Linked DNA regions of Homo sapiens: regions 1 and 3 are each linked to region 2. The links are contacts of gene promoters, found by promoter capture Hi-C in blood cells and fetal thymus (Javierre and others, 2016). All regions are on one chromosome and are shown on one strand. The core of a region is centred on a gene start or on the middle of the fragment in contact, and the rest is flanking DNA. Distances in the headings are between cores, read along the strand shown.

The links. Contacts are between HindIII fragments. The CHiCAGO score rates a contact against its expected background, and 5 or more counts as called.
Region 1: a fragment that was not itself captured here is called in contact with the fragment with the promoter of HDLBP in region 2 in 1 of 17 cell types (neutrophils); the score reaches 5.0 in neutrophils.
Region 3: a fragment that was not itself captured here is called in contact with the fragment with the promoter of HDLBP in region 2 in 1 of 17 cell types (neutrophils); the score reaches 6.5 in neutrophils.

The regions. Positions count from the first base shown.
Region 1 is chr2:240,552,101-240,556,720 of GRCh38, reverse strand. ANKMY1 (ankyrin repeat and MYND domain containing 1) reads left to right here. Exons shown (of 18, transcript NM_001282771.3): 3 at 1,666-1,855; 4 at 3,664-3,807. Among named protein-coding and RNA genes, the nearest start is that of ANKMY1, 3.6 kb to the left of the region's middle. RefSeq lists an enhancer at 1,039-1,539. The HindIII fragment of the contact is 3,033 bases long and covers 1,822-4,620 here.
Region 2 is chr2:241,313,666-241,318,452 of GRCh38, reverse strand. It overlaps HDLBP (high density lipoprotein binding protein), which reads left to right and starts at 2,781. Exons shown (of 28, transcript NM_005336.6): 1 at 2,781-2,883. SEPTIN2 (septin 2) reads right to left here and starts at 2,528. Exons shown (of 13, transcript NM_004404.5): 1 at 2,471-2,528. RefSeq lists enhancers at 1,331-2,055, 2,006-2,065, 2,056-2,780, 2,706-2,805, 2,826-2,875 and 1 more and silencers at 2,256-2,605, 3,146-3,525. The HindIII fragment of the contact is 7,846 bases long and covers 1-4,125 here.
Region 3 is chr2:240,574,602-240,579,362 of GRCh38, reverse strand. RNPEPL1 (arginyl aminopeptidase like 1) reads right to left here. Exons shown (of 11, transcript NM_018226.6): 6 at 4,735-4,761; 7 at 4,221-4,333; 8 at 3,753-3,861; 9 at 2,598-2,828; 10 at 2,373-2,515; 11 at 1-1,764. The coding sequence ends at 1,471. Among named protein-coding and RNA genes, the nearest start is that of RNPEPL1, 8.5 kb to the right of the region's middle. RefSeq lists an enhancer at 1-151. The HindIII fragment of the contact is 5,908 bases long and covers 1-4,761 here.

The DNA of each region.
Region 1 (4,620 bases), core at 2,089-4,588, 760 kb after region 2:
GTAGAGTGCCCAAAGTCTAGTGGGGACAAAGGATTGAGAAGAGACAGGTTAAGAATTGAAAGGTGGGGAGCCAGGGGGCCAGTTGCAAAATGGAGGCTGCAAAGGGCTCAGAGTTCTGGTCTCCACACTGTTTATTGAGCACACTTAGATCTGAGAAGCAGATGTTCAGGGCGAAACAGTGAAAGGGTGGCAGTGTGTCATAGGTGTAATCTATAGCAATATTGGTTTCAGTGAATCTCCTTTGTGCTCAAACAGCATATCTTTTAACTTATCGGAGAGTAACTGGTGGGAGCGGGCTTAGCTAGGAGCCTGCATGTCTGTCCACAGTCCAGGGCTTCAAAGGAGAGTCTTTCTCCTTGAACACAGTGTTTACAGATAAGAGAGCGGATCTCGCTCTGGGCATGGGAACATGATGGCAATTAGGAGGCTTTCCTCCTCAGAGGCCTCTTGTGGCTTTCCACAACTTATTGTCCCATATTTTCATGGCCTGTTTATGCAGGCACCCCACAAGCCCTTTTCCCACAAGCCCTTTTCCCAACAATGGGCTTTGGGAGGTGGCTGGGTTTAGATGGGGTGGTGAAGATGGAGCCCATGATGGGATGAGTGTACCTATGAGAAGCAGAAGAGCCCAGAGTTCCCCCATCCTCTCTCACTACCATGTGGGGAGCCAATGAGAAGGCGGCTCCACAGGCCAGGAAGAGGACCCTCCCTAGGCAGGGACGCTGCTGGCACCTTGGCCAGGGACGGCCGCCCTGCACAGCTGAGAACGGAAGGCCCTTTGAGACGCCCCATCCATCTGTGGGGGTCTCAGATGCTCTGTCCGTCTGGGGGGGAACTGAGATGCCCTGTCCATCTTTCATGGTCTGAGGCACCCCATCCACCTGTGTTGGTCTGGGATGCCCTGTCCTTCTGTAGGGGTCTGAGACACCCCATCCATCTGTGGAGGTCTGAGGCACCACGCCTTTTGTGGTCTGAGATGCCACGTCCGTCTGTGATGGTCTAAGACGCCCCATCCGTCTGTGGTGGTCTGAGACGCCCTGTCCATCTGTGGGGGGTCTGACATGCCCTGTCTGTCTGTGGACGCCCTATGAGTTACGGCAAATCCACCCTGGTTTGTGCTCCCCGCTGTTGCAGCATACTCCCCAGCCCTGCATCCATCCATCTGTCCACCTATCCACCTGTCCATCCTAGTATGAGCTGGCTGCCTCTCGAGCTGCCTTCCGACCTTCCATGGGTCCACATGTGTGGGCAGTCTGTTTTCTGTCCAGCTTGGGGCTGGCACTCCTGGCCCTTGAATGAGGACCCTGCTGTGGGCACCCACGTCCTGCAGGCAGCTGGAGTGGGACAGAGGGCCATCGATCTCAGGAGATGCCGCCAGCAGGCCCGGGCTGGACAGGCCGACTGGTCCTGCCTCTAGAGCCTGGCAGCATCTCTCCTATCCGTTGGCAGCCTTACTGTGCATTCCACTTCCTGTGTGGCCTTGGGCAATCGCTGCACCCTCTGTGCCTCGGTTTTCTCTCCAAGTGGAGTGGGGATGCAGCGGCACCTGCCCCGGGACTGTGGGATGAAATGAGATGCTGGGTTGTGCTCGGGGGTTGTGCTCAGCAGTCACTGAAGGCACTGCAGCCACTTCACTCTTCCCTCCTTCTGCTCCTGTCCTTTTAGGGATGTTTCAGCAGCCCCTGAGAAGGAAGAGGAGGAAGCTGAGGGCCCGCTGAGGGCGCAGGACCTGAGGGAGTCCTACATCCAGCTCGTCCAGGGTGTGCAGGAGTGGCAGGATGGTTGCATGTACCAGGGGGAGTTTGGGTTGAACATGAAGCTTGGATATGGCAAATTCTCTTGGCCCACAGGCGAGGTAACTGCTTCCACACTTTCTCCGCCTCCTCCCCTAGGGCCTCTGGTGGCTGGCCTTTATCCTTCCAAGAGTGATGGGACGGGAACTTTTAGGCCCATCAACAGGAAGGGTGCTAGGCTAAAGTTTTTCCTCCTTGAGAAATGTCCAGAGAAAAGCATCTTTCCCAACTTCCAAAATCACACCCATGGTTTGCTGGGGTCCCAGGATGAGGTTTGGGAAGCTGTGACTTAAGAAGATAAGTTCTTATTCTGGGCAGACGTTTTAAAATTATGAATTGCCATAGCAACTCGTATATTTACCTTGGTGAAATTGCCTGTGTCTAGGCTTAAGCAGAAGGCAGCGAATGTTCTAAAAGACAAAATGAGAACAAGTTTTGCACCCCCAGGCTAGGTCCTGAGCCCACATTCAATGCAGCTGAAACTGAAAAGGCCTCTGTTGGCGCTTGCCATGGAAAGTCCAGGGGTAAGGTAGCCTCAGGCCTGGCTGGATCCAGGATTCTAATGATGTAACTAGGTCCTCTCTCTTTCCATCTCCACGAGGGGGTTCTAAGACTGACCTTGTTCCATCTGCCCAGCCCCTGGGGGTGGCATCAAACACCCCTGGGAAAGAGAAAGGCCCCAGCAGGACGCTGGTCTGACTTGGGGATGCATGAAGTGCATCAAGATGGGGCAGGGGTAAGGCGTCCTCTGGTTGGCCAGGCCTGGCCCAGGCACTGGGGCTGGGTCCCTTGGGGAATCCTCTCTGTAGGGAGAGGGCATCTGTTGTCAGAAGAAAGGGAAGGGACACTAAGCTGTGAAAACTGCCATGCCCTTCACGTCGGGGTCAGGTCTGGGTGGACTGTGAGCATGGATGGCTGTGCGGGCACTCCAGGCCCACCCTGTTTCTGAGAAAAAGGTGGTGCTTGGCACTCAGCATGAGGTCTCCTGGCTGGAAGCCCTTGTCATGAATGTCACATTCTTTTTTTTTTTCGAGATGGAATTTCACTCTTGTTGCCCAGGCTGGAGTGCAAATGGCACAATCTCGGCTCACTGCAACCTCTGCCTCCAGGGTTCTAGTGATTCTCCTGCCTCAGCCTCCTGAGTAGCTGGGATTACAGGCATGCACCACCACGCCCAGCTAATTTTTGTATTTTTAGTAGAGACAGGGTTTCACCATGTTGGTCAGGCTGGTCTTGAACTCCTGACCTTAGATGATCCGCCTGCCTCGGCCTCCCAAAGTGCTGGAATTACAGATGTGAGCCACCACACCCGGCCAAATGTCACATTCTTTTTCCCTCTGGGGGCCTTGGTAAAGGGGCAGGCTCTGATACACTCACTCCTGTTGTTTGTGGAGCTCACGTGTCCAACCAGTGCTGAAGAGTTATAAATCAGAGTCCTCCCCTGTGCCTACTGGGGCCTACAGCCAGCCTTCCAGGGCCAGCCTGTCACCTGTGAACCTGGCAGGGAGCTCAGCAGCATGGGGCTCCTGAGTGGGGACAGGACCCTCCAAACCTAAGATCAAGGTCACCAGGGAGAAGGCATGTCCGTGCTCTCCTGACTCAGGATGTCTAGGTAGTTTTAAGCCTCCCCACAGTCCCCCACCTGAGGAGAAGACAGAGAGGGAGCCTGGCTATCAGGCTGACTGCCTGGTAACCCCTCTGGGTGCTTCAGTTGCCGACTCTAATAGTCGCATGCCAGGCATCCCTGAGTTCTGCCACAGCCCTGGGTGGTCCCCATTCATTGCCAACCAGGCATGGTGGCTCAGCCTCAAGGGCATCCCGTCAGGTTCTGGAAGAGCAGCAATTTCTCACCAACTTCTCCATCTCACAGTCATACCATGGGCAGTTTTACCGGGACCACTGCCATGGCCTGGGTACCTACATGTGGCCAGATGGCTCCAGTTTCACGGGCACATTTTACCTCAGCCACCGAGAAGGCTACGGCACCATGTACATGAAGACACGGCTTTTCCAGGTGAGGGGGCTGCCATGTGTTCAGCTGGGGTCGAAGTGGCTGTGTGTGTCTAAGCCACTGGACAAAAAGATATTTCGGTCCTGGGGAAGTTTATTTGTTTAGCTACAAGTAGCTTTTTTACTTTTAATGATTAAAATGGTACCAATAATAAGGATATAGACTGAAAATAAAAGCCTCCTTGCATTTTATTCCCCAGAGGGATACCAGCAAATTGTTACATGTCCTTTAGATTTAAGAAACGCACGTGTTTATTTTTAAATATGTAAACTGGATCACTGTACACATAATGTTTGAAATGTGCCTTTTTAAATGGAGAACATGCCTAGTCTTTCAAATACAGATGCCTTTCCCCCTTTTATTACAGTATAATTTACAGTAAAATTCACCCATTTTAATATATAGTTCTGAAATTTTTGACAATTACAGGGTTGTGTAACTACTACTGTAGTCAGGATATACAAACAGTTCCATCACCCTCAAAATATTGCCATGGCCTTTGTAATAAATGTCTCCTTCAACAAACTGTGGCTGATCTATTTTGGCCTAGAATTTTGCCCTTGTGAGAATGCCATATTAATGGTGTCAACAGAAAAAAAACAAACTCTGCAAAATATTTTAAAGAGGTTTATTCTGAGCCAATATGAGTGGCTGTTACTGAAACACCAGGGGTTCGCTCTAGATCTTTCCGCTTCCTGCACAGAAAGCCCATCACTGAGACAATGAGTATTGCCAAGGAAGAAGGCTGTAATTTGGAGGTGCAGCTGAAGAGATGGGAGCTTAATCTCAAATCCATCCCCCTGACTAAAACTAGGG
Region 2 (4,787 bases), core at 1,532-4,031:
ATCCCTAACGGTGTGGCTTTTTTCTTAAAGGATTGGATAAAATGAGCTTTAAGTTCACATGGAAAGATTAAATGCCAATGCTGAGGATAGAAAAGAGCAGGCACTTACCTTATCACCTATTACATGTATCTGATTTCAAACCCACACAGTGCAACATAGAAATACCATAGAGCACCTCTCCCGCACCTCCACAGAACCCCTCAGCCTCACTGAACCCTGTGCACACATATGGGAAAATGGAGAAACTATTTGTCTTAAACTGACATTTCAACTTTGCTTTGACTTTACCAAGTTTCTCCTGCCATCTTTTTTTTTTCCTGTTTTTTTTTTTCTGAAACATAACTTGGATCCACAATGTTTTCTCTCATAATTTATTAACTAATGTGAAATGGAAGGTGAAAGAGGAATTATGAACCTCTGAAGCACATGGTTTTCAGTGAGAAAGCCTTGATCCAGCAACACAAACTGCCAAGCACTGTGATTAACTTAAACACTGGGTGCAAATTGGACCAAAAATGTAGTCAAATGAAAATTTTGTTCCTTCAGATCGTGTTTATTCCACATGCCAGAAGTTGTTTAAAGTTCTTTAATCTTGACCCACAGCTTATTTCTTCCACAGAATAACCCCAATACACATAAAAAACCAATTTTCGCAAAACAAAAGATAGAAGATGAACAACATCTGGCGATGTAGAACCCGGAAGGTCCATGATCTTATTCAAAGCATCTGGATTCTTTGGATTCGGGGAAGGTCCACGTTCAGTATACCCACATAACACTCCTAACAGGGACTGGGGCAGGGATAAGTGGCATGTATGACTACTAACAGAACAGACAATACAAATGGCCTTACCTCACCTCTGCTGCCAAATGAGTTTTGGTGTCCCCATTCCTCCAGACAAAAAAAAAAAAAAAAATACCCACAACTTCTTCTTTTACAGCAGTTTCTGTATGCTGGTATTGGGGATAAAAAGGGGCCCTGAATTACATTTATGAATGATAGAGGGAAACCCTGGCCCCTTTCCCTAGGTCACCTTGCTAGTTTAAGAGCCAGTCAGAATGTAAATCTGATCTAATTAAAACGCTCTTGTTCTTTATTCCTGGCTGTGGCACTGGTGAGAGAAATCAAGGTGGAAGTTGAGGAAAAAAAATCAGGACAACCTTTATAGCTAATGAGATCAATGCCAAGATTATACATAACAGTACACATCATGAGTTAGGATGCTGGGTGGTGCAAAGAACCCATTAATGGGAGCTATCAAAAATCACTGAAAACAATGAGGCTCAAATCAGAAGTATCAAGAATCAGCTTTCATGACCCCTACACCATGATGTTTTTCTTTATGACGGCAGAACTATTTTGAAACATTAAATATATCGGCAGGCACTGTGATTCAAAAAGTATTTGAGAACCTACTAGGTGCTAGACACCAACCGAGGCAATGAGTATGGGTGACAACATGTGCCCTGCCCTCACAGCACCAATAGTCCACTGGACAAATACCATCTGGAACATCAGGTAAACACCTAAGCCTGTCTGGAGGAAATCTAATTTGGGCGGAATCCCACAAGCACAGACTAGGTAAGGAGAAGGCAGTTAAGGTGGGAAGTAGCCAGATTTAAGAGTTTGGGCAATGGCCAAAGGTGCAGAAGTTTGAACTACAAGAAGTTCAGTGTAGTTGGTTCGTGTGTTTCCGTGGAGAGAGGACAAGGTCTGGTGGCACTGACAAGAATTAGACCGAAAAGGTAAAAAAGCAAGCCAGGTTTGTCTGGGCCAGTAGGCCAGGTCACAGTTGGGACTCCACTGAGACCACGGAAGCCACAGGTTTGCTCCTCATCCCCGGGCCAACTCGGCGGCCTCCAACCCTATACCCTACCCCCTGCTGCCTGTCCGTGCCTCGCTGGTGCAGACCTTCGTCGCCTCTCCTCGCCGAAGGTACCCGCAGACAGGGCCTAGTCGCTCTCCCCTCGCTTATCCACGGCATCCAGCCGATGGGCTTGGAGGTTTGGGGGCTGGCCAGTCCTCCACGCCTCAGGGAGGAAATGGCACCGTTAGAAAGACAAGATGGCCACACAAGCTCTAAGTGTTTGTCGGGCCTAAACCTGTATCCTCCCTCCAAGCACCAAACCTCCCGACCTCGACCGCACTCGACGCCCCGAGGCCCAGCACCGACGACAGTGCAGAGGAATTCCCGCAGGGTCAACAAGGGGTCACCGGAATCCCCACTCCCGCGCCCGGGCCTGCCCGTGTCGGAGCCACTGTCGCCGGCACTAGGACCGCCCGGGACGGGGGAGCCCACGATAAGTGCCGAAGAGCCTGGGCTCGGCCGCCCCTCCCCCACACCGCCCCGCCGGCACCCCAGAGCCAGCCGACCACCGCCCGAGAGTATGGGACGAGCGGCGCGTCCCCCGCAGCTCCTCGGGAGGGCCGGCCCACAACTTGTGCGGGGTACACCGGCGAGACACTCACCCGCCAAACAGCCCGAGAACAGGCGCCGACCGACCGCGCCGCGGACCCGCCCAGCGCTCGCGGTCCGCTCACAGCCCGCCCCAGCCCGCCCCGCCCCGCCCAGCGCGCAGGCGGATTGCGTCACCGCGTCACCCCGCCCCTTTGCCAACTGCTTCCTGGCTCAGTGCGACCTGGCCTTCTTCCCCTCCCCCATGCGGCCGGCTTCCGAGTGCGCAAGCCCAGAGTCGTCCGCGTTGTCCGCCTCTGCGCAAGCGCCGTGCTCCTCCCACGGCAGTTGGCCATATAGAGGCTGGGGGTGGGGGGGGAGGTCAAGCGTAGCCTCTTCTCCTTTACCAAGATGGCGGCTTGTCCCTGTTTCGCCACAGTTCCTACCTTATGAGCTCGGTTTTCTTATGCTTATAAGAGTGGAACAGGTAATGAGAATCTTCGCCTTGCGGTGGGTAACTGGAGTGGGGGGAAGGCCGTTTGTTAGAAGGAGACAAGTGCCCACTGAGGAGGAGAGAGGCGGTCGCGGGAGGGCAGGTGGTGGCGGGAGTGCGGAGCGATCACGGGGAGGGGGAGCCTTCGCCTCTCCTCCTGTCCTCCAAGAAGATGGCGGCAGCACCGAGCTGGGGCGCCGAGTACGACTGGGCGGGGGACGGCGAGCGGCCGCGCGAAACTCGTCTAGCCCACCACCGCCGCCGTCTCGATGATCGGGGGGCCTCTCTGGGATTGGCTGCGCGCACGTCACGTGGGGCCGACGGGCCCTGCGCAGACCATCGAGTCGGGCGTCCCTCCCCGGGGACGTGGCCTTCCTGTGCCCGGGCTGGGGCCCGCCGCCCCGCGGGGGAGGGCGGAGCTGGCGCGGCCCCTAGCTTTCTCCTTCTGGTGTGGGGCCCGAGGTGAGACCTGGGGAGTGCTCCGCGAGCCCACGAGCAGCGACGTGGCTCGGGGACGGGAGGGTGCCGTGCCTGGCTGCGGCCTGAGCGGGATGGGCGCGGGCGGCTCCGGCCCGCGGGTTGTGCCCCGGCCCGGGGTGTCCTTTCCTCCCTCCCGCGTGGCCTGGAGGCACTGCAACTGTTCGAGACTCACGTCAAGGCTTGGCGCAAATACCCCTCGTTCAGGAAGCCTTCCTAGGTTTCCCCCGCTTAGAGGAAACACTTCCTGAGTTCCTAATGGCTGACCCGCATGGTGTTGGGAACCTGAGCCTTTCTGACACCGTGGCATGTTGCTAGGGTATTTTTGTGCGTAGCTCCTTTGAAAAGTGGTTAGGTGCTCAAGGCTAGCTGCTACATATCCTCTCCATTCGACTTAAAAAATGAGAGGGTCAGACTTGACATGGTGTTTGGACGCCATGTAAAATCGAAGGAAGTCGACTTGGGCTTTGCTTATTAAACAGTGCCTATTATGGTGAAATTAAACGGCTGAAGGAATGTGGATGAGTCGTAATCTTAAGGAACATGACGATTTGCCCCTCAGTTTTGCGTTTTATGTCCTCAGATTCATAGCTACCTATACCCTAAGCCCTCAATCAATGACTTCACATTTATTTGGTGTCTGCTTAAGGATAGTCACTTTCTTAGCAGCTAACTTCCTTAAAACCCTATTAAGATAGGTTAAGTCACAATTAGGGTTTTGTCTAAGGCTCCTGGTAGCGGCACATTGCATAATAAGCTTAATGTTCATTTAGGGAAGCAAATCTGGGATGCTGAAACACTGGATGAAACGTAGTGCTTAGGTTTATATTTTGATTTTTTGACATGTAAAAGTATCCCTAGGCTAAATTCATTAAGTACACATGATATTAGGATGCTTGGCAACAGTATTTAAAAATAGTTGAAAAGGTGTTTGGGTAAGAATTATTTCCATCATTTGGATTACCGAATCTCTGAGTCTGAAACATCAACCTATCAAGTTTTAGACTTGGGGAAAATGGAGCTGGAGCCTACTGCCTCAAGTCTCAGGGACAGCGTTTGAAACCCCATTAAATAATTCATCATGAGGATTAAACTTTCCTGTTACTGCTATTAGTTTTGCTTGGTGCCAAGCACTGTTGAAGGGACTTAGCTCATCTTATCAGGAGTCAAATTAACGTCATTCGGGTAAAAGTGCATTGAGTGTAAGGAGAGCACCTCAAAGATATAGTTGACCTATATCACGTCCCTCAGCGCCACTAGGCTTACTTGAATCCCTGTTACAGTGTCCTCTCCAGTGGGCAAAGCTAACTTCTCAGTGGCCTGGTGGGAGAATTTCTTCTTGAGTAAATACGTATTTTTCCAGGTTTTGTTGTTTTGGCCTTCCAGTTGTCTGACTTCAGCCTCATGACCTCACTTCTTCA
Region 3 (4,761 bases), core at 585-3,084, 740 kb after region 2:
GGAGGGGAGGGGCGGGGCATCCAGAACAGGAAGGAGGGTGAGTGGGACATTTGGTGACTGGGGACTGGACAGTGATGGTATCAGGGTTATTTGCCCAGCACCTCCTGCCCTCCCCACTTCCTGGCTGCCATGTGTGGAGTGGGGCTGTGACTGGGCCTGGCCAGCGGGTTGGGAGAAGAGACGTGCTGCTTCTGGGCCACGGCATGTTGGCCAGGTGTGCGTGGCACTGAGATGGTGGCGCCACATCCTTGGGGACTGTGAAGGGCAGCGACACCTATCGCCTGGGAAAATGGAAATCTCAGTTCTCCAAAACAAAACATGCCTGTCACCTTGTACCCATCTTGGGAAAGGATCACCACTGAGGCCGGGATTTGGCTTAAGCCACAGGTGAAGGCCCAGAGTGAAGGTGACACATGGCTTTCCTGTGACATCCAGAGGCTACTCAGGCCCAGGGGGTCCAGCCAAGGGGCTGGGCAGGATTCGGGGAGCCTGCTCTCGGGCTTATGTATCAGAGGAGGGGGCCACACCCAGCTCCTGACCAGCTCCAGGCCCCAAGTCCCGGCAGGCCAGCCCACCCTACACAGCCAGGAAGATGCAGAGGACAAGAGTCGCGAGAAAGAGCGCAGGAGATCAGGTTTGCAGAGTGGAAGTTTAATGGGACCATCACCGTGATACCCCATCACAGCAGTCCCAGGCTGGAGGCCCCAGGCTCTGGCCGCCTCTCCCAGCATGGTGGGCCTGGAGAGAGCACCAGCACCACCTCCCACTTTCCCTGGGGTATTGCTTTGCCCCTGTGCCTCCCACCCCAGGAAGCTACAAGAGACAGGCTGTCCTGTCCCCACACTCTCCCTGGGTCCTGGGACTCCCTGTTCTGAGGGGCTAAGGTTGCCTGGGGCCAGAGGGCCCTCCCCAGGGACAACCATCCTCTCCCTGTGTCCCCTGCCCCCCACACTGAGGGAATGTCTGTGTCCTTGTTCCTCTGCCAGGGGCCAACTGAGGCTGCCAACCCCAGGGGCGGGGTGCAGGGCTGTGCGGGGAGGGTGGCTCAGATCCCTGCAAGGAGGCGTGCTGCAGGGACAGCACAGCCTGGGCCCCCGGCAGACATTAAGGCACAGTGTGGCGGTCACCATAGGGCTGCTGGGGCCCTTGCCCCGGGGCGGCACCTGGCAGGTGCTGGCATCCGGGGCTAGGCACAGCTGTCAGTGTTGAGACAGGAGGCATGGTGTGTGCGGGCTGGCCCCAGGGCCTGCAGTGCAAGAGAGCTGGGAGTGGGGAGGCCAGGTCCACAGGTCTCTGCCAGACACAAGGAGGTCCCTCTCCCCATTCTCCCTGCCTGGGAGAGCCCAGGGGAGGGGCTTGTGGGCCTGGGCAGAGCTCATGGCCAGAGCCGAGACGCAGTCATGGCAGGCCTGGCCCACAGAAGGCACAATTGTGGTGTCTGGGAGGTCGAGGGTCAGCCCGCCAACAGGGCTAGGCAGACACATTGACGTCCCTGAGAGAGATGGCACTGCTGGGGGCCTCGTCCCCAAGCAGCAGGGCCTGTGCGTCCGAGTCTGTGTCTGCTTCAGCCTTGCCCAGCTCCGTGCTGGGCTCTGAGGCGGGCTCTGTGCTGGAGCCCAGGCCCTGGGACAGGATCTGCTGGATGGCTCTGCGCAGGTTGGGGTGCAGCCGGCCCTGCGTCTGGTAGAAGACCTCCAGCGCGAAGGACTTGAGGGCACCGGTGCAGAGGTCCTCGTACAGCGGGATGGTGTACATGCGTGACATCTGCAGGAGGGGCACTCGGTCACACTGGTGGGCTCCCCAGGCCCCTCGAGCCAGCCCACCCTGCCAGCCCGGCCAGGCGGCCCTCCTGCCCCTGGCTTCCCAGCTTCATCATTAGGGCTGTGGCCTGGACTCCGGTGGCCAGGAGGCCTACCATTAGCCTCCCACCTCCACCCTGCCCTTCCAGGCCAACCATGGAGGCCCCATCTCCAGGGAACCTGGGCTGGAGGGAGCACATACAGGGAGCAGGGCAGCCAGGGCCCACGGGCCTGAGGGCTCTGGCCTCCCTCTGAGGAGCTGGGACGTCCCCTCTGCCCAGACCAGGACGCTGAAGGCCCAGGGCCCAGCAGGCTGTGGTGGCCTGGACCCTAAACTCCTGCTCCCAGCTGGTCCCTTCCACAGTTTCTCCAAGAACTGGTGGAGTCCAGGCTGCCCTCTGGTACCTGCACCCGGTGCATGCCCCCACTCCCAACAGACCCCTACGTCTTCCCCGCCCCATTCTCCAGAATGTGCCTGGCCTGCCCCAAGGGCTCAGACTAGGGAGTCGGGTGGGACTCCCAGTCCGCACGGCTAGGCCGTTCCAGGCTGGCCCCCTGGGCAGGTGACCGCACCTGGCTCTCCAGGAAGCGCCGCACCCTGTGGAGGTCAGGATAGTAGTCGTTGCGGACCACAATCTGCAGCCAGCGGATGCGGATCTCAGCGTTCATCGAGTCCAGCAGGGAGGAGTAGCACTTGGACAGGCTCATCACCACCTCTGCAGCGCAGGGGGCAGGTCAGGGCTGGGCCGCTGTTGCACCCCAGCCCCTGGGCCGCCCCCATCAGCTGCAGGGACTCACCCTGCGGCAGCGGGGACCCATCCAGGAGCCGGTCCAGGAAGAGTGCTGTCTGGAAGGTCCTCCACTTGGAGATGTCAATGGCGCTGGCCGAGGCAGCTGCCTGGTCCAGAGGTTCTGCGGTCCACAGCTGGAAAAGGGCCTCCACGGGCCGGGTCAGGCTGGATCCCTGAGACAGGTCCGGCTCAGCCAGCGGCGGGCCTGTGGCATTGAGCCAGCGCTCGAATTCCAGCCCTAGAGGGGAGAAGTGACCCTGGGGTCCCTGCCCAGGCTAGGAAGGGGCTGCCTGAGCAATCTGCCCAGGAGACCCCAGACCCTGAGTGTGTTCCAGGCAGGTGGCCTGTTCCAGGGACGTGGGCTGTTCAGGAAGGCGGAGTCAGCTCCAGCCAGCACTGCCACTTGAAGCCACTGAAGGGGCTTCTGTGAAGGGGTACAGGGAAGCAGAGACTTGGGTTGGTGACCAAGGGACTCGCACCCACTCCACGCCTCTCCTGGGTGGAAGACAATGAAGTAGTCTAAACCCAACCTCAGTGCTGGTGGAGGCCACCTGCGCCATGAACCAGCAGGGGCGGGATGGGGGCAACAGGCTCTTAAGATGATATTCCTGCTCTTAAAGGGCAGTGCCCATTCCCTACCCACAAAAAGCTCTTGATGCACTTGCTGTACCTTCCAAAACTTGGTGTCACCATGCACAGCCCTCCCAGTGGCACCTCACCACCCTCCAGCAATTCTGGCCTCTCCCTCAATGTCTGAACCCTGCAGTGCCTTCCTGGGCCCCAAGCCCTCAGACCCTCAGGGACACCTTTACAAGTGACACATAAACAGGGCTGGCTGCTGTTCTCCAGCTCCAGGACACCCCCGTCACCCGCCCTTCCTGCACCAGGCCCTTTGCACACCTGGTTTCCATGGCCCGCTTCCTGGGAGTGCCTGACTCGGCCTGCTTAGCCTGTGCCACCGGCCCCAGGGAGGCCCCCAACCCCAGCCCTGTTCTCATAGCATACCAGCCTGGGGCCCACATGGTCCAGCAAGGGTTGGCTGAAGGACAGACAGTGAACTGACAGGGCTTTCCTCCAGGTGGAGTGGCCCCTCAGGCAGCAGAGGCCCCGCCTGCCATCATACCCACGGCTCCCTGGCTGCAGGGTTGGGGGTCAGCCTCACCTGCCCGGCAGTCCACGCTCTGCTCCTTCAGCTCCGGGAAGAAGCTCAGGAAGGAGTCCAGCAGGTCCTGGGCCACCACGCTGGTGAACTTGTACTTCTCCACATAGGCCTGTGTGGCAGAGGTGGGGCCTCAGCAGGCCTGGAAGGGTGGGGCACAGGCAGCCCCACCAGAGGCCTGCAGGGCACTGCAGGGCGTGCGCCAAGGTACGTGCTGGGCACAGGGGCAGCTAGTGGGCACTGCGGAGCCAGCACTTGGCACGCAGGCCCTGCCAAGGGAGCAAACAGGGTGGCAGAAGGGGAGGTGGCAACCCAGGCACTCCCCACAAAGAAAGGCAGACTAGGTCCCAGCCAGGCTCACAGGCCCCTGCCAGTTCCACCCCAACTGCCGCAAGAGCAGGCAGCCCTGTGAGCCGGGGAGGGGCTGGGGGCAGATGGCAGCAGGGCCGTCCCGGGCAGGGGGCTGCTCACTCGGAGAAAGTCATCAAAGCGCTGTGGGTCTCCGCAGAGCTGGGACAGGTAGTACACGAAGCAGTAGCCCTTCTCGTAGGTGAACAGGTTCATCAGGTGGCTGGGATTCACTCCTGCAAGGTGAACACCCACCTGGGCTGGCGTCCGAAACCACCAGTGTCCCGTGGAATAGGGAGGGGCAGTGGTCAGGCTCCGAGGAGCAGCAAGGGCCAAGCGCCACTGTCCCTCACATGTCCAGATGTGTACTGATGCCCTGGGCGTGCAGCGGCAGGGCCTCGGGGAAGACTGAGGACTCACACACCACTGTGACTGCTGCTCAGAGCCAGGGAAGCGGCGGTGGCTGTGGGAGCCTGGGGAGGCCTTGCCCTGGCCAGGGGCTCCCAGCTTGGCCTTGGCAGGGGTCCAGGCACAGTGCAGGACAGAGAAGCCACAGCCAGAACACACGAAGGGCAGGCAAGGAGGCCTTGAGGGGTGACATCCCCAGTTGTGGGAGCGGGTCCTGAGGAGCAGGTACCTGGCTCCAGCTTGACCTGCAGTTTGC